5 separate regions of the Homo sapiens genome follow, and regions 2, 3, 4 and 5 are each linked to region 1. Evidence: promoter capture Hi-C in 16 types of primary human blood cells and fetal thymus (Javierre and others, 2016). All regions are on one chromosome and are shown on one strand. The core of a region is centred on a gene start or on the middle of the fragment in contact, and the rest is flanking DNA. Distances in the headings are between cores, read along the strand shown. Region 1 holds the start of MAGOHB (mago homolog B, exon junction complex subunit). Region 2 has its middle 51 kb from the start of LINC01252. Region 3 overlaps CD69 (CD69 molecule). Region 4 overlaps LOC124902877 (a long non-coding RNA gene). Region 5 overlaps SMIM10L1 (small integral membrane protein 10 like 1).

Region 1 (4,854 bases), core at 180-2,679:
CTCTACAAAAAATAACATAACATAACATAACATAACATAACATAACATAACATAACATAACATAACATAATTAGCTGGGTGAGGTGGCGTGGGCCTGTATTCCCAGCACCTCGGCAGGCTGAGGTGAGGGATCACTTGCACTAGGGAGGGGGAGGTTGCAGTGAGCTGAGATCGTGCCACTGCACTCAGATCTGGGTGACAGAGTGAGACCTTGTTTCAAAATAATAATAATAATAATAATTGCAGGACTGTAGTTAACGTGAGTTCTGCCTGAAATGCTTGATACTCTTCTCCTTTCCTAATATACGTTCCTTCTCTAATTTTTTATTCTTGCTCTCACAGAACATTGTCCAAAGCCTGCTTATAGGACTTAATATGCATACTGCTTTATAGTTAAATGTCTGTGCCTCCCACCAAGACAAATCTGCTTTAGTTAAATTTGTCTTACTCATTACTGTACCTTAAAATTTTGTATTTGCTTGTTGTCCAGCACAAAACGTGCATTCAAAAAAACCCAAAAAATATATATCCAAATGAACTTTCTTGTTGCAGGTAGGCAAGATCAATGTAACATTCTCTAAGGATAGCGCTGTCAGAAAACACACTGTTGCACACTACTTGGGTAGCAGTTTCACCTCATCCTCTGCTCATACTGCTCTGGAAGTCTGTTTTTTTCTCTCAAAGGCCAAGTCTCTCATTTCGAGACTCATCTCAAGAGTGCCGTCCTCTAAGAAGATCTTCCTGACTCCCTCCTGTGGAACTTTACCTCTCCCCTCTTGCTTGGTACTCTTCATGCGTCCTATGGTGAACAATTACACGTAAACACCTAAAACATATTATTATTCTCATTTGTTAACACGTTGGGCTCCTCCCCTTCAAAGAAAACACACAGCCTAAATGAAAAAAAGGTACTGGTCACCACAAGATTTTATTCATCCACTGGACCACCCGCTGGTGGGGGTGTTTTCAAAAAAGTGCTAGCATTTTCAATCAGGGCGACGATCTAGAGTCCCTTCTGGTGCACTGTTACAGAATTCTGATTACTGTAGGTTCAACTTTTCAGTTTGTGACAGGATTAGCTTTAATTTATTGCAATTAATTCTCTTTCATTTATAAAACCAACTTATGCCTCCTCTATTCTTAAGCTCCTATTTCCTTCGAGGGAAGCAGTGGCCTCCGCCGCCTGTACCCTCCACACCACCCGGCCTCTCGGTCTCGCTCCCCTTTCCCAGCACCGCGTGCCGTGGGCCTCTTCTCACCGTCCGGCCGAAATTCGAACTCCAGAAACTCGTGCCCAAACTTGCCCTTGTGCCCTACGTAGTAGCGCAGGTAGAAATCGCTAGCCACAGCCATTTTTGTACCCGGGAAGCCCGCCGAAAACGCAGCCAACGTGTCCCCCGGCGCCTTGCAGTGACGTCATCGCGCGGAATAAGTGCGTCACCACAGGCGCTTCTCTTCCTCCTGCAGTGCAGCCCTAGACTAAAGCGTGAAAGCCGAGTATCGCGTGAGAGTCCGGAGGCGCTGAAGGGAGGGTCGCAGCGCCGTGACTTTCGCTTTACTAGGAATGGAGGCACATTGTTTTCAAAATAAAGATTACATTATACTAGCAAAGATTAGAAATGTGAGCATATGATAGTCTTTTTTATGGACTTAGAGCTAAAGGTTTGCAAGTCACTTTTACTTTTCTGGTCTCCCAATCCTTGCGGCGTTTGTGAGGTGGGTGTGGCTCTATGCCCCCTTTAACTGTGAGCTAAATAAAGATAAAGCTTAGAATCGAAATGGCAGACCGGGAATATAAACTATTTTTCTTACTTAATTTCTAACAGGGTGCTTTCCCTTTGGATAGCGATTGGTAGTTACCCGGGACCTCTAAGCCTATAATAATAGAGACAAAGTCAAAGGAATCCAACTCTTAAAACCCTCACACCCCCCACACCTGAAAAACCCTGACAGTCACCGTGCTTTTTTTAACAGCAGAACTTCTAAGGTTCTTAATTCATTCAATAAGGGTTAACTTTTAGTAGCCTGTGAAGTTTTGGCAATTTGACTTACGATACAATAATGGTTTAGCCCATTATTGTTTCTCGCCAGATAGAATTAAATTGGGGGAATGAAAGAATGCTCCAGTGTGGCGTAGTTTTTAAGGTAAGGGAAAGACTTTTACACAAAGTTTCCTTTTCAGATATTATTGATCACCCTTTTGTTATCAACACACAGAGTAATCCTATCTGTCGGTTGACAACCTTCAGTGATTTTTAGTAGAAAGTGGTGGAGAGAAGACCTGGGATTCAATCCCAACACTTAACAGCTAACTAACCTCGGGCAAGTGACTATCTCTAAGCCTGTTTGTTCATCAGCCTAATGCATATACAGCAATCTACATTGCCAAGCTCACAGAATTCTTGAGAGATCTAATGAGATAATATGTAAAATAAGCTTTAAATTTTATAAAACATTAGTTTTAACAAACATTTCCTATGTGACAGTTTGAAACTAGAAATAAGCCATTTGATCTGGTAGTCTAGAAAAGAAAGCAAACACGTAAGGCGAATACCAGCACAAGGGAGCAATTGCTATAATTAAGAATATATGTGCCATCCTGGCCAGCATGGTGAAACCCCGTCTCTATTAAAAATACAAAAAAATTAGCTGGGCGTGGTGGCGCGTGCCTGTAATACCAGATACGCGGGAGGCTGAGGCAGGAGAATTGCTTGAACCCTGGAGGCAGAGGTTTCAGTGAGCTGAGATCGTGCCACTGCATTCCAGCCTGGGCAACAAGAGCGAAACTCTGTCTCAAAAAAAAAAAAAAAAAAAAAAGAAAAAGAAAAGAAAGCCTATATGTGGCCGGGCGCAGTGGCTCATGCCTGTAATCCCAGCACTTTGGGAGGCCAAAGGGGGCAAATCACCCGAGGTCAGGAGTTCAAGACCAGCCTGGCCAACATGGCAAAACCTTGTCTTTACTAAAAATACAAAAATTAGCCAGGTTTGGTGGCACGTGCCTGTAATCCTAGCTACTCAGGAGGCTGAGGCAGGAGAATCGCTTGAACCCGAGAGGCGGAGATCGCGCAGTTGCACTCCAGCCTGGGTGACAAGAGCGAAACTTCGTCTAAAAAAAAAAAAGTGTGTAAAACATGCCGGTAGTACAGCAGAGGAAGCAAGAGCATTCTATTGCAGAGTAGGGAAATTTGAAAAAAGAGTATTGGAAAAGGCTTGTCAACGGAAGTGTTTGAATTGGACCTTGAGAAGTAAGTTCTGTGTATGTTCAGTGGGATGAAAAAGCATTCCAGGCAGAAAATGACCCGAGCAAAGACAGTGGTGTGAAAATTCATGTTTGGGGAACACTAAGAAATTCGGTATAGCTAGAGCATAAGGTTCAAGTAGAATGACTAAAAAGGCAAATTGGGCCACGTTTCCTTGAGTCCATATTAGTAGTTATATAACTATTAATATAGAAAAATGAATCAGTCCCTACAATGGGCCACCATTTTGGAAAGTACGTAAGAAACAGGAAGCACCATGTTTTACCACTAGGGTGACTAGCCGTTCCAGTTTGACCAGGACTGTGGAGTTTCCTGGGAAATGGGACTTTCCATACCTGGAAACACCCAGGCAAACTGAGATGGGTTGGTCACCACACTTACCACAAGAATAATTCACAGAAATTTGAACACTCTATTCCGTAGTATCTCTGGAAATATCAGCTGTAATCCATTTTGTTGAATTATATGGAAAGCCTCATTCAATATCTTAGATTCCCTAATGTCTCTCCTTCAGGTTTTTGGCACATGTGCCAATGTTCATCTTCATGTTTACCTAAATAGAACTATGGATACCAGAATGTGTAACTATATAAATAGAGGTTACAGAATGCACAAAGTATTAACATCTTTGTTAAGTGGGCCAGTTACTGTCTTGATCTCCAAAAATGACATAGGGGTTCAAGACTATAATCCTACCTGTTTGTAAGATAAAATATGAAACTATATTTACTTAACTCTCTATATTTTAAGCCAAAATTTGAACCTTTTGTATTGAAGCAAGAATTACAAAGTGATAAAGCATTTGCGTTGTGTTGTATTCTTGGATGGTACACAACAGTGATGTGGAAATGTTCTTCTGTATGGCTGCTGAGCCCTTGAAATGTGACTACTGTGACTTCGAACTGAATTCTTAATTGTGATTAATTTAGATTAACATTTAAATAAACACATGTGGCTAGAAGCTACTGTGTTGGTCAGCACAGTTAGAATCTTTTCATACACTTTTAGTTGGGCTAGAAATAGCAAAAAAAAAATTGTGAACATTTTCAAATTGCTTGTTGTAGGCTCCAAATTAGGACGTACTTACTGATATCAACACAGTTTACTTATGAAAATAAATATTTGAGCTGCTTAAGTGAAGCCAAAATACTGTTTCCACCTTTGCTAACACAGCGGTAAATTTCAAAGCACAAAGTGAAGTAGGTAAGAAATAAACGTTTTATTTCCATCTGAAATTAGGGCTTAATGATCAAATCATTCTGACTTCCAATTTTCAGAAACATGTTCCATGTTTATTGTGATAAGCACTAGGTATTATAGTCTCATGTTTTTAATTTATGAATAACGTCTGATTCATTTGATTTTGTATTTACAGAAGAAAAGATGTCAGGGCTATCTCATTCAGTTATTAATAAATGGATCAGAGTAGTAAGTCAAGAATAAGTGCATAATGTGGTTTAAATTTTAAAAAATACTCAGAATGAGGTAGTATTTTAATTTTTAATTCATCCACCCACCTTGCTCTTCTCTTTTCCATAATAGACTTCCCTGTGGACGTTAGCCTTATCTGTCTTTTTACCACTTAGTGGTATTA
Region 2 (5,196 bases), core at 325-2,824, 880 kb after region 1:
CATAGCTTTATGGATAATGATACCGTTGCTGAGCAAAGGAACACTGGAAAAGAACCATATTCTACATATCCACCAATTTCATTATTTCGTACATAGCATTAATATATCTCCCTTGTATTATAGTTATTTATAGGCATATAGGTTTCTGATATCAAGGCTTTTCAGAGGTTTGCAAAGTAAGGCCCACGGGTCAAATTAAGACCTGTTTGGCCCATAGCTAAGAATTGTCTTTACATTTTTAAGGTTGTTAAAAGAAAAAAAACAAAGATAAATATGTGACATAGACTGTATGTGGTCAGCAAAGTCTAAAATGTCTGCTCCCTGACTCTTTATTTAAAAAGTCTGGGGATCCCTGCTTTCTATGGTTCATTTTGTTTTATTAGATAATGAACACATGCTAATAAAGTTGAATTTAATACTTAAAAACAAGATATCTTCCAAGGAATTTAAAATTGTAAAATTAATACATAGGAAGCATAAGTTTCATGTGTATAGCATATAGAAAAATGCATAATTTTGAAGTTCAGAAAATGAAAAAAATTTGTTCTTAGTCAACAAAAATTCATAAAGAAAAAGAGTTTGTAAAAATGTGAAGGTTCACCTTGGATGAACACGTTGGAAGTAATTCAAGCATTATTGAATTTTTGTATTGAGATGAATGTGTTTTTAATCTTTCAAAATTATATATTATGGATGATAAATTATTTTCTCCTAAACACCAAGTTTTATTGCTTATAGTTTCTCAGTTTCACCTTTACTTTTTTAATGATAACTAGAATATCATTAACACAGAATGTTAATGAGTGAACCATGGCTCAACAGTTTAGTCAATGTGAAGCCAAATTCCAATGCCTCATTTATGATTGCACTTGTATAGAACCCAATAATTTTTTGATGTAAAACTATTGCTTCACCTTATCTACAGACCCCCACCACAGTCCACTTTGTGCCATGTTCTGTAGCTTGTACCTAGAATTAAGGTTTGGATATTTTTGCTGCTGGCTGCCTTTGGTAATTAATTTTATTTCGTCTAGTTTTCTTAAGAGGCAAGGTTACAGGAATTGCCATGTAAATGAATATGCAAGTTAGTAACTTAAGCTTATAGCCAATGCACTATATTTTTAATAGGATAGTAGCTGGATTGATCTGTTTTGCATACAGGTGGTTTTATACAAAGCATATTAGGCATGGGGGAAGGAGCAAAAAAGGAGGGAGAAAGACAGAGACTCTGTCCTGTCCCCTCCATCCAATGAACCAAACTTTAAACACTTAGTTTACGGCAGACTTCCTTTATGATGCATTTTCTTATCCCTCCCTTATCTGTTTTTGAGTTTAGTGTTAACTGTTTTTTTTTAATACCCCACCATATGTTGTTCAAATGTCTATCTATACAACTGTCACACTTCAGGACAGTTGGTCCACATTTCTACTCCTGCCTGCTAGACTGAAGACTCCTTAGGGAAAAGACTGCACCTCCTCTATCTTTCTAGTCCCCTTACCTAATACAGTGCCTACCACGAAGCAGGTAGGTTTGTAAGATGAAGGAATCCATGGATAGTTTGTAATTCTTGGGAGATGACAATGCCTAGTGGGAGTGGCCAGAAGGATTCTTTAAGGATGAAAAAGAATGAAGAGTAATAAGGGGAGGCTGAATGTTGGATGTTCTGGGAGTCACTCCTTCTCCTCTGTGGTTTCTGACCATTGAGAGATCAAATGGGGATGACAGCAGAGATGGCTAAGTTGTCCCCACTATCTATTCTCTCCTTCTTCCAAGGTGATGGAGTCCTCAAATTTTGCCTAAATACATGACTACCCACAAATGAGACTTCAATTCCCAGCATCTCTTGCAGGTGGGTGTGGTCATGTGACTGACATCTGGCCAATGGGATGTAGGCATGTGCTCAATGGCAGTTTCTAGGCCATTGCTTCCTTTTCTCTCCTCATCCTCCAACCTCGATTAAAAGGTCAAGGGCTACATCCAAGGAATGGTGGGGCAGAAAGGAGGAAGGAGCCTGGTATCCCAAGGACTTCATAGGGCAGAGCTGATACACAAGCTTCATAATACAAAATCTGGACTATTGCCTGAGAAAGAAATTAATATTTTTTCATCCTTTCTCTCTTTTCTTTTTCTTTCTTTCTTTCTTTTCCTTCTTTCTTTCCCTCTCTCTTTCTTTCTTTCCCTCTCTCTTTCTTTCTTTTCTTCTTTGTCTTCTTTTCCTTTCTTTTCTTTCTTTCTACCAGCTTTTCCTAGCTTTTTATTGTGGTAAAATAGACCTAACCTAAAATTTACCATCAAAACCATTTTTAAGCATACAGCTCAGTGGCATTCGCACATTTACACTGCTGTGCAGCCGTCACCACCAGCCATTTCCAGGACTTTGCCATCATCCCAACCTGAAACTCTACCCATGAAACACAAGCTGCCCAACTCCCACCTTGTTTCCCCATCCCTGGCGGCCACTGCTTCTGCTGCTATGAACTGGACTGTTCTAGGCACCTCACATAAGTGGACTCACACAATATCTGTCCTTTCATGTCTAGCTTCTCTATTTAATTTTTTTTAATAAAACCTTTTAAGAGACAGGGGTCTCATTATTTTGCCCAGGCTGGTCATGAACTCCTGGCCTCTGGTGATCCTCCCACGTCATCATGACTGACTTCTCTATTTAATTTTTTTTTCTTTTTTTTTTTAAGATGGAGCGTTGCTCTGTCACCCAGGCTGGAGTGCAGTGGTGCAATCTCGGCTCTCTGCAACCTCCACCTCCCAGCTTTCAAGCAATTCTGCCTCAGCCTCCCGAGTAGCTGGGAATACATGTGCATGCTACCACGCCCAGCTAATTTTTTGTATTTTTAGTAGAGACAGGGTTTCACCATATTAGCCAGGATGGTCTTGATCTCTCGACCTTGTGATCCGCCCACCTCGACCTCCCAAAGTGCTGGGATTACAGGCGTGAGTCACTGTGCCTGGCCTCTATTTATTTTTTAAAGGTGGGTGGGAACTAAGTGGACCATAGAGGAGCTTCCCGCACAGGTAAAGACAAGGTCGGGTGTACTGAGAGACGCAGGAAAGTGGGTCAGGGTGTAGGGCTGGAGGGCAGCTATGGCCTCTGGGCCTGGACTATGGCCTCTGCCCCGGGGCACACACAGAGCAAGGGCTGCCCAGAGGAGCCAAGACTGGCTGTCAGCCTGGCCCTGAGCCCAGGGGGAAGGCAGTGAGGGACAGAGGACAGAGTACACAGGTCCTGTCTTTGGCCATAAGCAACCCGAAATGAGGCTTAGTCTCCTTCCTGGAAGCCCACTCTGTGCCTCACATGGTGGGCCCCAGCGTGAAGTATGTGACTGCGTGACTCCAGTTCCTATGTTGACCAGGATGTTCTTGAACTCCTGGGGCCAAGAAATCCTCCCACCTCAGCCTTCCAAAGTTCTGGGATTATAGGTGTAAGCCACTGCTCCCCACCTGGAATGCTGTCTTTGTACCAGCTCCCTGGGCCTGGTAGAGAGGCACACATTCTGCTAAGAGACTTTTCCTGACTTCCCTAACCCTAGAAGGGATTTGTCCCTCCTTATTTTACTCATGGCTGGATTAGAGTTCCATTGTTTTTGAGGCTATTTTCCTGGCCAGTGCAGGGTCTCATTCATTTCTGTAGTGATCATGGTCTGCACTGAAGACAGGATCAGTAGATGTTTGCAGACAGAATGAATAAACCACTAATCAGTCTCTTAATGCTTGAATGGACTTGCTACTTCCTTGTTTCGATTTGTGTCTGTACAATCCCCTCACATGGATAGTACAGTAAACACACACGGACTCCCTCAGATGTGGTAACTAACACGGAATTCATCTTAAGATATGCAAAGAAAGTATCTTACATCTTTATCCGCCTCCTGATCTTACAGATGGGAGAACTGAGGCAGAAGACTAAGTTAAGATGGCCAGCAAATTTGCACTGGTATAAATACAAACAAAGGGAGGGGAGGAACATTCTTGAAAGGGGTGTGGTGGTCTCAGATGGTTGGGTTCCTCGGATGGTGGAGGATCAGTTGGCCGTGCCTTGGTTATCTGACAGGAGGGAAGAGAAGTGGGAGGTGAGGAGTAGTTCCTGGGTCCTCATGAGTATTTGAGGCAGGTTCAGGTCTGAGAAGCCAAGGATATCCTTCCTGGAAGCCTGAGTTAGGAGGAGGAACTCACTGCTGGAGAAAAAGTTGAAGAGGAAGGAAGACAGACATCTCAGATCATGGGAAGTGCTGGCCTGAGGAGGCGAGGACAGAACCATCAGGGTAGAAGTAGGGGCTGAGGAAGCCGGCAGGGGGAGCAGAGGAGTAGGTACCAGCATGGTGAAGAGGTGCAGTGCATTGTGTATGATACACACATTATTATTATTGGGAATAACCGTGTATCAGAGTGCAGTTCTCAGCCTGAAGAATGGGAAATGGAAAGGATCAGAGATTCAGAGAAGGCACATGGCCCTTTAAGACCAAATGAAGCCTCCTAGGCATTTCCTGCCACACTCACCCAGGCCCACCCACACCTCTGTTGCAATGGAGGGCCTCACTACAGTGCCCAGTAGAGCTGGCCTAGGGCACAATGCCAGGCCTGATGAATGTCTTTCTGGCCATGTTCAAGCAACAGGCTGTGATTAGGCCTAATTATAGGGGCCTGGTCTCTTAATATTCTGCGTGGCATGTCTCTTGCCAATCAAATCAGTGCCATGTGCAGTGTGATTCCTGCTTTAGTGGCATTGGGGGAGGAGTTAATTCAACCCAGTATAAATAGATTGTGCTCTCACCTTGCAATTTGAGGATTATTTTTCCCACCTGTCATGCACCTCCTTCCTTCTGGCTCCCTAAGCTCTAGTCTGGGTGAGCAGGGCCTGGACACTGCTATACCTAGAGTCACTAGCCACTGCCCAGTCTGTGTAAGAAGCAGGCCTCGAATTCCTCAGGGTTAGAGTGGGAAGAACCCATGTGTGCACATTTGCTTTTCCAACCTGGGCACCATTTGGCAGCTGATTCGGGCAATTCTCTCACCACCACCACACTGCCCATGTATCCCTGTTTCCAGCCTCTGTTTTCCTCTGCAGCCAGGGCTCCTTTCTTGTATACCCAAGGTGGGGAGCTGAACTGAGATCATGTATGGACAGGGTTCTTGGCAGGTACCAAGCACCTTATAAGGGGTGAGGAAATGTTGCTCCTTCT
Region 3 (5,425 bases), core at 2,218-4,717, 860 kb before region 1:
TCATTCTGTCCATGATGTCTTTTGAAAACTAGAAATCTGTAATTTTAAGTTTATAATGTGCAGATTTTTGTTTGTTGGTTTCAAGTTATTGGTAAGTATATGTAAAATAAGGAGAAAATAATGTGAACTTCAGGTCTCAGAACCTAGAAATTTGGAAGCAAGTCAACTTATGGTAATGTAGTTCTTTAGCATAGACGAAACACTTTTACATGCATTATTTTAATTACATTTTAAATTTGGCATTACAAATATTGAGAAATATGAATGGGGTGCAGCATTATCAAAGGTTAAGTTTTACTTTTCTAGATTATGCCATTTCCTTTATAACTAGAAAAAATACAAAATGTAGTGTTGAGAGAGTGGTGACTGCCACATCTTTCCACAAAAGAAACCAAGAATCATCATCCACACACACACAAGCCACTTGAGTGTAAAAAATAACCAAGATATATTTTAAAAATTTATTGTAAATTGACAAATTATAATTGTATCTATTTGTGGGGTATAATGTAGTGTTATTTGTACACAATGTGGAATGATTCAGTCAAGCTAATTACCATATCAATCACCATCAAATACTTATAATTTTTCATTGTGAGAACATTTGAAATTTATTTGCTTCGCGATTTTGAAATGTGCAATATATTATTGTTAATTATAGCCAGCAAGAAATTATTTTTTAATGTCCTTTGACAATGACTTAACACAGAAGTGCAGTAATCTCATACAGTCACTAGATGGCACTGCAGCTTTTGCAACAGAGATCTTTAAGACAGGCAGGAGGGGTTCTTGAAATAAACTCATTTTTCGTATTTGTAATTGGTCACCAGACAGTAGAGTCATGCTTTAAATAATAAAACTATTCCCTTTAAGAATTATATATTTGTATCTATTTAAAGAAAACACTTTTTCTTAAGAATAAAATAATTTCATTATAGGAAAATTCAAAATTGGCCGGGCGCGGTGGCTCACGCGGGTAATCCCGGCACTTTGAGAGTCTGAAGCCGGCGGATCACTTGACGTCAGGCGTTCGAGACCAGCTTGGCCAACATGGTGAAACCCCGTCTCTACTAAAAATACAAAAATTAGCCGGGCGTGGTGGTGCGCGCCTGTAATCCCAGCTACCCGGGACGCTGAGGCAGGAGAATTGCTTGAACCCGGGAGGCAGAAGCTGCAGTGAGCGGAGATCGAGCCACAGCATTCCAGCCTGGGCGACAGAGTGAGACTCGGAAAAAAAAAAAAAAGGAAAAAAAGAAGAAAGAAAGAAAGAAAAAAGAGAAAAGAAAAAGAAAGGAAAGAAAGAAAGAGATCCAAAATTATAGAAAAACATAAAGAAAATAAATACTTCCTATATTCCTCCTCCTCAGGGAAAACCACTGTGTTTACTTTAGTAGTTTTACTTTCTGTCAGCATATAGAAATATAAAACATGTTTTGTATATTTAATATTGAACAGGAAATAATCCTATTGTATATATTATTTTAAACTAGCAGCAATAATAGTTTGAGTATTCTTTCATATACATAAATGTTCTTCATTATTTTTTAATGTTGGGATAGCATTTCATCATGTAGGAGCATTATATTTATTTAACTAAATCTTTGGTTTTGGACAATTAGGTAGCTTCTGATTTTTCACTACTAGAAATATCCCTTTGATAAACATTTTTGTGGTTATGTCTTGCACATCCAAGATTATTTCTTTAAAATCTCCCTCCCTCCCCAGTAAGTATTGTCAAGCTGCTTTCCAAAGGGTAAAGGAAACCAGTTTACACCATCACCAGCAGTCGTTCTGGTCATATATTTCCCAATATTTTTCCCTGAAAAATCATTTACATTTTAATTTCAGTTATAATACATTTTCATGTGCAAAATCTAATCAAATTATGAAAATTGACAGCAAGCTTAAAAATATCATTTCTATATTAGTATCATACAATTTTTAAGTAGTTGAATACTGACTATAGCACCTAACAGTTCAATGGCATTTTAGCCTTTTTAAAAAGTTTTATCCAATCCCTACAATTATGTGAAATGTGCAGCTGATGTATTCCCCTTTCCAGAGGAAGAAATTGAAATTATGTTGAAAAAGCAACGCAAAACACGGATAACTGATAGTTTTATTTTACACATATTTATGTAACTATCCAAGATGAATGTAGCCTACAGAGTTAAAATTTTGATAATTAGCTAAAGGTTTGAATACAGGAGTATATCTTTAATATGCTTCCATAGCACCCTACGTTTTTCCTATTATAACATTCATCACACCATGTCAATTCATCTTGTTGTTTGTTTTACAAATAGACCACGAATTCCACAAGGCCAGTTGCCATGCGGAATTTGCTGAGTATTTTAACTCTGGTGTCCACCATAGTAGTAGGTGCTTACTTATAACTTGTGAAATGAAATTTTTAAAAGGCTTTCCAAAAACAAATACAAATAAGATATATTACGTAGAAATAGACATGTCGTGTAGAAACGCGGCTTTATGCCAATACTGGAAGTTTGAAGACATAGTGTTTCTAGTTCTAATAATCATCATGAGTATTTAATACATGCCTATGGTGTACTAGGGAGCCAGATAATGTTTTAAGTTTGTTTTCATGTACTAACTAATTTAACATCTAACTAATTTTAGCTGAATTTTGAACGAGTTCTGATAAAATAGCTAGTCAGCCCGCGCGTGGCAGAGATGAAACTCGGGCGGTCTGGCCCCCGTGCTTTGGGTCTCAGCAGCTCCACGCTCCACATAGATGTTTTGTAGGATCCTTAAAACAGAAGTGCAGTAATCTCGTATAACCACTAGATGGCACTGCAACTTTTGTAACAGGGGACTTAGCCGGGGGCAGGAGGGGTTCTTGAGACAAACCCATTTTTTATATTTGTCATTGGTCACTTGCAAGTAGAGTCATACTTTAAATAATAACATTATTCCCTTTAAGAATTGTATATTTTTTATCTATTTAAAGAAAACAGTTGTCCTTATGAATAAAATGACTTCAAATTATGTGTAAAAAATAACTCTGTTATCCGTGTTTTGCGTCGCTTTTTCAACATAATTTCAACTTCTTCCTCTGGAAAGGGAAATACATCAGCTGCTCATTTCACATAATTATAGGGATTCAATAAAATTATTTGTAAAAATGATAAAATTCATTGAATTGTTAGGTGATACAGTCAGTATTCAATGACTTAAAAATTGTGTCATACTAATATAGAAATATTTTTAAGCTTGCTCTCAATTTTCATAATTTGATTAGATTTATGCACATAAAAATATGTTATAACTAAAATATTAATCGCAAGACATTGTTTTCTAAGATGACTCGGGAGTAGATTGTTGGTAATGATAGAATATTACCGCTAGGAGGCTGCTTGTTTCTTTTTTCCCACAGCTGTGGGAACTCAGGAGCACAGAGGTCATTATTTTTCACTAAGCAGTGTCTGAAATCCACATTTCTGTTTGCCGTTTGCCAATAGTTTAGAGATACCATACACATCATACATTTCCAACAAGCAGAGAAGAATATTGCAAATTACATTTATAAAACAATTTTGAAGGTAATCAAATGTATTAGGCTATTCTTGCATTGCTATAAAAATATCTGAGACTGGGTAATTTATAAAGAAAAAAGGCTTAATTGGCTTACGGTTCTGCAGTTTTTACAAGCATAATGCTGACACTGCTCAGCTTCCGCGGAAGCTTAGGGAGCTTTTATGTATGTTGGAAGGTGAAGTGGAGTGGGAGCAGGCATGTCACATGGAGAAAGCAGGAAAGAGAGAGAGAAAGAGAGAGAGAGAGAGAGAAAGTGCTGCACACTTTGAAAAGACCAGATCTCCTGAGAACTCACTCAGGTGCAAGGAGACCATCAAGAGGATGATGCTAAACCATTCATGAGAGATTCGCTCCCATGATGTAATCACCTCCCACCAGGCCCCACCTCCAACAAAGGGGATTACAATGCGACATGAGATTTGGGCAGGGACACACATCCAAACTACATCATTGAGTTTTTTGCTGATTGAAATATCCCATGAAGATTATGCCTCTTTTCTATATATTGAATTATTTTACATAAATAACTAAAGTGTATGTAGCACCTCAGAATTGAACAAGATACTTTCAGAGCATTGACTATGAGGAGTAATTATTACAGAGCATCTGCTATATACAGAAAAATGGATATGGATACATACACCCTTTAGCATATAAGCATATGAAAACAATTTGATATGTATAAGCTATTATAAAACTAAGGGTTTTACTCTACATGGGATTTTTTCCTAAGTTATAGTAACTGTTTTCTGCTTTCTCATATAGTATATACTTTTTAATGTATTTTGAAGGAATGAACTTTCTTGGAAACCATTGTGTTTATTCTACTTTTATTTCACATATATAAAAACAGCTTATAATTGTACTGAACACAAAATACAAACAAATACATTTTATTGCACATAAAAATATTTTAAATGAAGTATTGAAGTATTGCACGTAATAGAATTGATTTAGGAAAGTCACAAACCTATTATAAGACTAGTATTATTCTAGGTCTGAAGATTACAGAATATTTCCTAATAGAGATTTGCCACATCACATATTGCACATTTTCCAACACTATTCTATGTCTTGCAAATATTCCTCATAGTCTTTGCTTATGTCTTTTCTCTGTAAGACACTGTATAAAAGATTATAAAGGCAAAGAAATATGTACCATCGAAAAGGACCTGTCTACAGCTGAGGAAGTAAAAAAATAAATACATGATCATCCCATTCTTTTTGGGGAAAAATAACAAAGTAAATTGGCAAATTTCTCTAAAAAGAGAGAAATATTACAAATCTTAGTTTCATAAGCATTTGTCCATTTATAAATGCTCCCTGAGTTTAAGGGATTCAATTAGACTAAAAACCTATGTTACCAGCCATAATTCCTTTGTTTACATTCAGTATCTAGTACCAACATCTAACTCCTTCCAATAGTGCAAATGCATGAAGGGCTCTCACTGTTGGTAGTCATTCAGCAATAAATAGTAAGTCCACGCCTAGTTATTTCATTATTTCTGGATTCAAAATAATATAAAGTGCATCCAAAGGTTGCATAGTCATTCTTCTCATTCTTGGGCATGGTTATTGGTCAACCTGTGATGCTTCTAGCTCATGGCAATAAAAGCCCACAGTGCAGATTTTCCTGGAATTTCTTCCTTTTTTTCCATAGTTCTGTTTGGAAGAAAATTCCCAAGACACTATAAAATTTTTTTTCACAAAGTCTCTATGGAAGACTTCGGACCACAGAGCAGCATCCACTGACACAGATTTCCTTGAGTTCCATTCTATAATAGTCAATAAGTGAACATGTTTCCTTATTATTTGTAAGGTTTGTTACATATCCAGTATAAATTCTTCTCACATTCCATGCTGCTGA
Region 4 (5,040 bases), core at 912-3,411, 930 kb after region 1:
TGAATTTCAGATAAAGAACAAATAATTTTTTAGTGTAAGTATGTCCCAAACTAAGCATGGCAAAGGACATGTTTATGCTAAAAAATTATGTATTATATAATAATAAATTATTATTATTTTCTGCAAGTCACATTAACTGGGCATCCTGTATTTTTATCTGGCAACCCTAAAAGAGAAGGGCCAAAAACTGTTGAGAAAAGTCAGTGGATTCCAGGAGGGACTATTGCTGGATTTCTGGACTGATGCTCGCTTTATAATACTTAACTGTTTTTAGCCCCTTCCCTCCCTCTCTCCCTCCCTCCCTTCCTTCTTTTCTTTCTTTCTTTCTTTCTTTCTTTCTTTCTTTCTTTCTTTCTTTCTTTCTTTCTTTCTTTCAGATAAGCTCTCACTCTCTCACTGAGGTTGGAGTGTAGTGGCACAATCTCAGCTCACTGTGGCCTCAACCTCCCAGGATCATGTGATCCTCCCACCTTAGCCTCCTGAGTAGCTGGGATTGCAGGTGTGCACTACCATGCCCAGCTAATTTGTGTATTTTTTGTAGAGATGGGGTCTCACTATGTTGTTGAGGCTGGTCTTGAACTCCTGGGCTCGAGCAATCTGCCTGTCTCAGCTTCCTAAAGTACCCAGATTACAGGCATTAACCACCACACTCAGAAACTTCTATTTTTAAAAGCCATGGTCTCTTTAGGTGTTCTCTATCACTCTAAGTCAAAACTATTCCTTAAACATACAGGGCTCGAAGTGTTGATCTCCTGGAGAGCCTGGTCACCTCCAAGCCATAGGGCTTACAGTAGGCTGTCTTCAAACAAGCAAGGAAGTAATAGGCTTTCTACCGCAACTCAGATCTAGGTTTCAGGACTCATTCTAGGGACAGCTGCAACTGCCAAGTAGACTATGAGGAAACTTTCTCAGTGTTCTAGAAAAAAAAAAATGGAGGAGAAGGTGGGGAGGGGGAAGGAGAAAGAGAGTTAAAACAAAACAAAGAGAAAGACGGAGAAAATTAATGATTATATCAGGCCTCTCCCAACTCCCTCCTCTTTCCCTGGAGCACAGGACTAAATGTTAAGAAGAGAAGGATGAGATTTCTACCATAACTGAGGAAAACTACAAAACATGAGAGTCTGAAGAGACAATAAGGAAGATAGAGGCCAATCCTGTAATTTTTCAGATGAAGAAAGTAAGGCCCAGGGAGAAGAAATTACTGTATTCAGATCACACAGTTATAAGGATTCGAGCCAATACTGGATCTTAACCCAGTGTTTACTATTCTGTGCAGTGTTCCATTATTCGTGGATTGCTAACAATGAAAGAAAGCATAGAAATGATATAGTTCAACCTCCTTATTTTAAAATAAGAAAAGATATATTGAGAGAGGTCAAATAATTTGCTCAAAGTCACAGTTGGCTTTTTGCTACCAATCCAAGCTTCTTTTCCCTAGTCTTTGCATATACACACAACAATGTTTTGAATAATTTCAAAATTATTTCAAAAATTAACCCAGAGTAAATGTACTTATTCAGGAAAGTAGTGGAAATAGGAAATATAGCAAACATAAAAACACCTCACCCCTATGACTCAATTTATACTGGTCCATGAACAGTTAACAGTTTTCAACACTTAACACTTCTCTTCCCGTGCTAGCTGGCAGCCAGAGTTATTCTGCAAAACTGTGTTTCCAAGTCCTCAAGAGGAATACATGTGTAAGTGTGCTTTAAATTTGCAAATGTTTTATCTTTGAGATCCTTAAACAGTAACACTATTAATCTTCATCTTCAAGCTGCTAAGTTTGTTATGATATGTTTATACGTGTGTGTGTGTGTGTGTGTGTGTGTGTCTACGCAGAACTTTTTTTGGCTGGTCATGTGACTCCTAGAACTGTATCCTTCCATCCACTATGCATTTCCCTATGTAAATAATATTAGCTTTCACTGGTGATGGCAACAAGACAGAAGGAATGAGGTCAAGGAGGAAATAAATTTGGATAGAAAGAAGCCGTCAAAACCCTGTGAATAAAATTCACAAGCGAGTTTCGGTGACTCATAAGAGCACAGAGAGGAGACACAGGGATTATTCAGGAGCAGGTTCCTGTAGGGTAGCAGGAGCTGCACAGCAGGAGTGTGGAGGGGCACAGGTCAGCACCAGGATGCACCAAGGGCACCTGGGAAGTGCTGAGGGCCAGGCCACACTTAACTCGGGTCTGTGCCCTGCAGTGGGAAGAAGCCTCAGAGTATTTTCATCCTGCGAATCTCCTCTGTGCAAGAAAAGACCAGTTGATGTCCTTGAAAACTTTCCTATTTGACCAGTTCATTCTTATTTCAAAATTTTATATTATTATATTTTTTAGAGACAGGGTCTCGCTATGTTGCCCAGGCTGGACTCGAACTCCTGAGCTCAGTGAGACTCCCACCTCAGCCTCCTGAGTTGCTACCATGCCCAGCTTGCCCAGTTCATTTTTAATGAGGCCAAACACATTGGTCATGCAGCTCACAAACAAAAGGGAATGTCTGTAGTTCTGGTCAGTCACAAACTCATTGTACTTTACAGAGAAAACTCCATGCAGAATGTTGAAATATCATCCTCTAAAGGTTGACTCTAAGTATACAGAAGCAGTGTAGGGGCACAGACAGCTCAGTTGAGCACTCAGCACATCAAACAAGAAAGCATGTGGTGGTTTCCCTCTACCCAGAGCAGGGTCTGATACGGAGGAGCAAGCCTGGACTTTGTCCTTGGGCAAATTGCCCCATTAGGGGAGGAAGGAGCCCACTCTCCAGACTTTCTGGTTTGAAGCAGTACCTGGGTCTGAGCAGAGTGAGGAACACTTCCTGCTACAGCCAAACTAGACTAGCCTGGGCCCTGAGATCCATGACCTCACATGTGCCTTTTTCTCCAGGCACACTGGAAAGCTTAGTCCCCCCGCCCCCGTGACTGTCTGTTCCCGAGATAGTCCCTTTGCATGGAGAATCCGTGCCCATCCCACCCACCCCCACACCATAAAAAGTCAATGTTAGAAGGTTTGAATGGATTTAGTGATCATGCACTCCAACCCTGCCTATCTGTTCATCAAAGTCCACTTCAAATACCACTTTATAAAGACATTGTGGTTCTTCTGTCTCCCAATTCATTATTACTTTGGTGCTCTGTTATGGTATACATCACATTCAGTCTTGTATTAGAGTTGTTTGTGTACATATTTTCTGCCCTCACTCCAAGGCCAGCTTAAAACTTATAAATCTTAAAATATTTTGGCCTCCTAAAAATTAAACAGTATCATTCATAGTTTCCACTATTAAATATTTTATGCTTTTGGAATAAAATATGTCATTCTTCACCCCCTCTCCCAAAAACCCCAAAACTTTGTTCCTCTGCTTTTCTAGTTTCCCGTGTGCTGCTTAGTGGGTTTTCCAGCAGCCCTGGTCCCAAGCACATGAGGGACTGTTAGCATTTTCAAGACAAAAGTATCCTTAACTCCTCTTCATGAGCCTGCGAAGATTAAACACGGAGCTCAGAACACAGTATGAACACAATAGATGTATGATGAAATGAATAGGGCTAGCATTAACTAATGAGAGCTCCTCAATGATGAGCAAGAAGAAGGTGAAATCATGCCATCCAAGGCTTCCCAGTGCCCCTGGAGACCACACAGCCCCTTTACACAGGAAATGACGTGATTCCTGATAAGCAAGCAGTACACACTGCACAGCTTCCTTCCCTTCCTCCCCCTGCCACTCAGCACCTTTGGCAAATAGCGGCCTGCCTTCAGCCTTCATTAGGAAAGCCTTCATTAGGCCTGCCTTCTTCTCTTCATTCATGAGAGAGTGGCATTAACAGTGCACAAACTAATGCTTCTTCAAATTTTTCTGGGGTCTGCTGCTGCTACTGCTAAAATCCGCTTGCCTTCGGACACAGTTTCTCAAATGGCTTAAAAGCTTCTCTGCTTTTGATCCCTGCAGCATCACTTTCTACTCCCTCAATCAGAAACCAGAAGCTACCCACCCCCATTTCCTGTGTTCATGATAGTAGAAAGCAACAGAGAACAGTTGGCCCCTGAGCTGCCAGGTTGTGGGCTGGGTAGGGAGGATCCATTGCAGGAGCATTGGAAAGCCTTGAGCACTCTGCCCTGCCTGTCCACACAGCAGCACCTTCACAGCCTTCTAGTAGTTCTGATCAGATTTCTGCCTCTTAAAGCGGCCCCACAGACTAAAAGCCATCATCTGGAATTTGGAGTAAAAGGGCCCACAGGAAATGAAGCACTCTAAGAAAATTCAGCTGGGCAGGTATTTTAAGGTCACTGACTGACTCCAAAGTGAAGGTAGAACCCATATTGACCGCAATTCATCACACTTCTGTAACTTCAGAACTCACTGCTGACTGGTGGAGAAGGTTGCAATTGCATTCAGTCCGAATCTCTGAACATATTATTTAGAAATATTAGCTTATCCAGCTGCCTACGGAGCTTCCCATCTGGGCTTTCAGTTGCTACATTCTCTAAAGCCGTATCTGACCCACACCTTACTAACACTATGTGCTTCTACAGCATTCACCCAGTGTTACAGCTCTTTTAGAATCTGTCTAGCAGGTTTTCCAGTCTTCACTGGAAAGCCCTTGCCCCCAAATATAAAAAAATAATAAGGCATTCACCCCTGAACTTTAGCAGGGCTTCCAATCGCCTTTAAGCACTCATTTAAAAGAAAAGTCTTTTATTCCCTTATAATAGTATTAAATCATTAGCAAATGATTCTCAAAACTATTTTTTGAGTGCTCTCTTCTGTGTGAGAATGTAGGAAATGATGACCAAGTATACGAAGTTGGACATGCCTAGTCCCAGGTGGCCTTTTCCTATTGGCACAGCTGCTGGCATTCACCCGTGCAAGCTTCTAGCTTGCTTGTCTATGTCTGCAGCTTGATTTTACAGGCTGCTCATTGTAAGAAAAGAAAACGATTTGAGGGCTGCTTTTCATTAAAAGGAAAACCTTACTGAGGACTTCCTTACCCTCACTATCTGCCTAAATAATTTCTTCTTAACTCCTATATCACTTATAA
Region 5 (4,719 bases), core at 1,524-4,023, 560 kb after region 1:
TGTTGTTTATGGTTTTTATTGTTTAAGGGCATACTTAATTATGGTTACAAAGTGGAGTGCAAATGTTATTTACCATGTTTTAAAAATACAGCCGGAAAATACAAGTGGGAATGTTGAAGGAGGGCGGGGGAAGTAAATGGAATGGGGGTTATGTCCTTATAAAGTGGAAACTTGAAAGGTACTGTCTGTTGTTGAGTGGGGAAAGACATTTTTATTACTTACAGGGTAGCCATAAAGTTTCTAAAACGGTAATATATTAAAGAGGGAGAGTGGTAGGGGAGAACAGTATGAAGTCAACAGGAAATGGCTAAAGATGGAGAGCTCAGGTAGAATAGTTTAAAAAATGAAAATTGATAGAGTACCTGGTGTATTTGAATACAGCCTAGAGAGCTTTCATTTTCCAAAGAGTGTGGGGATAAATTAGTGAATGCATATTTTTCAAAATTAAGAAAACAGAACATATAATTTTGAACGCTGAGAAAAATAAAAATTTAAAAACTACACTGTATACACGGTATACCTCAACTGTGAATAATAGTAGTCATGTAAAGTCAGTCATAATTATGTAAATACTGAATACTGATTTTACAACAAATGATTCTATAACGCTGGGAGGATGGGAGAAAAGAGATGTGTGTGTGTGTAATGGTGGTGAGCCAATCAAGATCTGATATAGAAAAATGCAGAAAAAGGAGTATACACATGTTTTCTTCGGATTAAAAAAACTAATAATAAATCACCAAGAGTGGTAAAGTTTTAAATCAAGATCTGATATAGAAAAGTGCAGAAAAAGTAGTATACGCATTTTTTTTTTCAGGAAAAAATTAACTAATAAACCACTAAGAGGGGTAAAGTGTTAAAATAGTTGCATTGTTCTATATTCCACTCATTGTGTCCAGCAAACAGTGTTCTATGGCTTTAAGTAGTAAGCATCTTGCCCCGTCCAACACCATGTCTGGCCTAGGGTAATTGTTCTTTCTAGTCTTTATTCTTTGTCTCCAGCCAAACTCCATTTGGGCACATTCTCCTATAGCCTTTTCTACCTGAAGATACTCTGTGTTTTAAAGCTAAGCTTAGGTGGCGCTTTTTCCATTAAATTTTTCCTGGATTCCACTGACCATATAGGAGCTCACTTCTTTTAATCCATAAGGCCATTTTCATAGGTTGCCTTATTTTTCCCTAATCGTGCATCAACTGTCTGTTTTATATACCCAAGACAGGTTTCCTAGACTGCGATAAGCCAAAACATTTTAGTCTAAAATATCAGAAGTGTAGTTTAATCAATGAAATAGTAATACCAAGGGATTTAGAATCGTGGACATCACTGTTTCCCAGAGCACTGATGTCCCAATTTGTAACACAAAAGACTGTCTAGTCTTAATCCTGAAATGGTGACAGAGTAGGATGCTCCATTTGGGTGACTATGTGAACATATTCCTATAACTTTTTTCCTCACATCAGTCATTTGTTAAACCGAAGATGAAGAAACAGACTTTGTATTTATTACATCCTCCAACATAATTGGCAGCTCTGTGAGGGAAGACACTATATCCTATTCAATTTTACACCCGGTAGTAACAGTATGTGTGTGTACTGTATATATACATATATATATACATACACATATATAAATTTAAGTAGTAACTATATATGTATATATGTATAGTTACTACTTACTATATATGTATACAGTATATAAGTATATATGTATAGTTACTACTTACAATATATGCATAAAGTTACAGCTTACATTTACCTCGTAATATATGTATATATATATATTAGGAGTTAAATGTATTAGGAGGTAAATGTAAACTCTGTGGTTTATCATTTATTCACAATTGCTCTTAATTCTTGGGGTATAGTTTGCCTCCTACATGATGCAATTCAGTGAAATTCCCAGGAGACAAAACAAGATTTTGACCTGAATAAACCACTTATTGTTGTAATTCACAAGTGAGTTTATTCTTCCTGGCACACTTCCAGGTAATATCCATTAGGCTAAGGATTTTGTTTGTTCACTGTTCTATCCCCAAGCCTAGAGCACTGCCCAGTGCGGAATAGCTAATAAATATTGTTGAATGGATAGATGAATGGCAATTTTGTTGGTATGCTCTACATAGTCAGCAGTCAATAAAGGAAACATATATTCGTTCCTGATAATAAGATGATTCACTTTATTGCCCATAAATTGGGCTTTTTCAGGCCATCATGCACGTTGATTGATCCAGAGATCCCTCAAGCATGAAAAAGCAGAGACATAGGTGGTATAGTTATTATCAATAGAGATAAGAAATGTAGCTGGCAAAAAAAAAAATGGGAAACGATGCGTTACAGCTTATTTTAACTATAAAAGGAAAACAGTGAACATAGCAACATATGTAACCTAAGGGATAGGGGAAAAGTTGTTTTTTTTTTTTTAATTCTGGGTAAAAATACATGTGATTACTTGACAAATAGCATATCATTACCATCAGCATCATTTTTAAAATATATTGAGTTTTTAATACCAGGAACTATGAAAAACTATTTATATACATGAGCTCCGTAATTCTCACATATACCCTGTGAGGAAAACATTTTTATCATTTTTCAGAGAAGCAAACCGGGATTTAGAGAGGTTAAGTAAATTCCTAAGGTCATGATAACCAACCAGACCTCAAATGAATCTCCAGTAATTCCTAAAGTTATATTTCATAAGGAGTTCAATTTTCTTAAATGTGTAGATAATTACAAATAATTCTGTTTCTCAAATTTCTGGACAGAAATATTACCTGGGTAATAGTTATTTTTTTTAACATAACTATTGAGGGTCTTTCATACTAAAATATAAATATTTAACATGATTTGATATGTAAGTTCAAGTATTTTATACTCTCTGCAGCCTTAAACCTATTGGCTTATTTTATTAGAGGGTTGGTGGGATTGAGGGATATGGGAGCAAAGGGAGAGAGAGGAAAGAACGTTGTCCTCAGAATGGAAGGGAAACACTTTCCTGTGCTACCCAGAGTAGAGATCAGACAATGTTAAATTTTGAAGCCATGTCTGTTCCTGTCCTGAGGATCCCTAACTAAATTTTGTTAGAAAATCTTGCAGTTTGCTTTTAATGGGAGATCTTTCTGGCAGGACATCAATAGCTTTTGATAGCGTCAAGAAGAAAATAAAGTTACATGCAGAAGCATAAAGGGGTAGGATGAAAGTTGAGGAATATAGGGACAAAAGATGAGGGAAAGGAATATCCTAATACTTGGAAGTTTGAGCATGGAAAGTAGTCTAAAGACGACTTGGGAAGTTCCAAGAAAATGAACCAAGAAAAGAACCTCTGCAAGAACTATGAGAATTCCCAACAATTGGGTTGGATTGATTCATATTAGTCTATTACTTGGGTTACCTTGAGTGTGGGGATTCTTCTTGCAGTTTTAACACTTGTACTATGGTCTGAATGTGCCCCCCAAAAATTCACATGTTGGCATTTAACCCCCAAAGTGATGATCTCAGGAGATGGGACCTTTGGGAGGTGATCAGGTCATAAAGATGAAACCCTCGTGAATGGGATTAGTGCCTTTATAAAGGAGACCCCAAAATAATTCCCTTACCCCTTTTGCCATGTAAGGTTATAGGGAAAAGTCATCTATGAACAAGGAAATGAACCCTCACCAGATACCAAATTTGTGAATGCCTGGATCTTGGACTTCCCAGCTTCTAGAACTATAAGAAATAAATTTCTGTTGTTCATAAGCACCCATTTTATGGTATTTTTTATAGCAGCCTGAACAAACTAGACTTAATAGGATTTGCTCAGCAGGATTACCACCAGGTCAAGTCATGAGATCTTTTCAAAATATAAGTAAACCTCCCCTTACCCCTACTCTCCACAAATACAAATTTCAGCAGTGCTCTTGGGACAACTAAAAGGCCCAAGGACCTTCCCAAAAGCCTACTACAAATGAAGAAACTATGGAAGTCTTAGTAGCTTAATTGCAGGACATCCCTGCCAGTTTCTATCCTGATTAGGGATCTGCAATGAACATTACAAAATCTTCACCATCTCCATGGCTTTCAACACCAAGCATATGGACTTAGCCACTGTAAAATAGTGGCATGCATCAATGAACAATAAAGAGAAATGGAGATCATTCATATTATTAGTGAGGGAAGTTGGGTACAACTTTTCATCAGCCAAAAAGAGGGAGAAAAAAATCACACCACCAAATAATGAAATACTGTAACTAAGATCATTGGCAGAGAATTAGAGATTATGTTCAGCAGATTAAAAAAAAAAAGAAAACAGCTGTGATCATGCCACTGCACTCCAGCCAGGGCTGCAGAGCAAGACCCTGTCTCAAAAAAACAAAAAGCCAAAAATACGAGATGCTTAAAAAAAGAACTGTTGTTCAAGAGATCATTTTCACTTTTTAATTGGTTTTTGAAAACTGTGAAAGTATCTCAAACTGAAGTCTAAAAGGAAAATAATAGAAGCTTCAAAGTTCAGGGGCCAGGTTATATCTATATAAAAGGGAAGCTAACTTATTTCCAGAACTGATTCATTTATTAAACATGGGGCTAAGGAATAGAGGTGGCAATATACAAGTCAGGATAATGCCTTTGTCTTCTGAAGCTGCATCTACATTGGTGCCCCTCAAAATAGCTAAAATTGAAAATAGTTTATCTGTCACCTGGGATTTCTTCTACAAATAACCTTCCCAAAAAAATATTGCC

Evidence for each region. The method cuts DNA at HindIII sites, captures the fragments that hold promoters and counts their contacts. A CHiCAGO score of 5 or more calls a contact.
Region 2: a contact is called between a fragment that was not itself captured here and the fragment with the promoter of MAGOHB in region 1, in 1 of 17 cell types (total B cells). The highest score is 6.6, in total B cells.
Region 3: a fragment that was not itself captured here is called in contact with the fragment with the promoter of MAGOHB in region 1 in 1 of 17 cell types (fetal thymus); the score reaches 12.3 in fetal thymus.
Region 4: a fragment that was not itself captured here is called in contact with the fragment with the promoter of MAGOHB in region 1 in 4 of 17 cell types (naive CD4 T cells, non-activated CD4 T cells, total CD4 T cells and 1 more); the score reaches 8.9 in naive CD4 T cells.
Region 5: a fragment that was not itself captured here is called in contact with the fragment with the promoter of MAGOHB in region 1 in 7 of 17 cell types (naive CD4 T cells, M0 macrophages, erythroblasts and 4 more); the score reaches 7.5 in naive CD4 T cells.

The regions. Positions count from the first base shown.
Region 1 is chr12:10,612,180-10,617,033 of GRCh38, forward strand. It overlaps MAGOHB (mago homolog B, exon junction complex subunit), which reads right to left and starts at 1,430. Exons shown (of 5, transcript NM_018048.5): 1 at 1,260-1,430. The coding sequence starts at 1,353. RefSeq lists enhancers at 487-1,366, 1,151-1,550, 1,367-2,244. The HindIII fragment of the contact is 2,009 bases long and covers 1-1,764 here.
Region 2 is chr12:11,494,486-11,499,681 of GRCh38, forward strand. No RefSeq gene overlaps it. Among named protein-coding and RNA genes, the nearest start is that of LINC01252, 51 kb to the right of the region's middle. The HindIII fragment of the contact is 956 bases long and covers 1,097-2,052 here.
Region 3 is chr12:9,748,115-9,753,539 of GRCh38, forward strand. CD69 (CD69 molecule) reads right to left here. Exons shown (of 5, transcript NM_001781.2): 5 at 4,372-5,425. The coding sequence ends at 5,367. Among named protein-coding and RNA genes, the nearest start is that of CD69, 10 kb to the right of the region's middle. RefSeq lists an enhancer at 2,599-2,893 and a silencer at 3,354-3,433. The HindIII fragment of the contact is 472 bases long and covers 3,232-3,703 here.
Region 4 is chr12:11,541,937-11,546,976 of GRCh38, forward strand. The region is part of intron 2 of LOC124902877 (a long non-coding RNA gene); the gene reads right to left. It also overlaps the pseudogene RNU7-60P. Among named protein-coding and RNA genes, the nearest start is that of LINC01252, 3.6 kb to the right of the region's middle. RefSeq lists an enhancer at 2,570-2,629. The HindIII fragment of the contact is 1,479 bases long and covers 1,423-2,901 here.
Region 5 is chr12:11,172,276-11,176,994 of GRCh38, forward strand. It overlaps SMIM10L1 (small integral membrane protein 10 like 1), which reads left to right. Exons shown (of 1, transcript NM_001271592.2): 1 at 1-3,741. Among named protein-coding and RNA genes, the nearest start is that of PRH1-PRR4, 3.0 kb to the left of the region's middle. The HindIII fragment of the contact is 3,407 bases long and covers 1,071-4,477 here.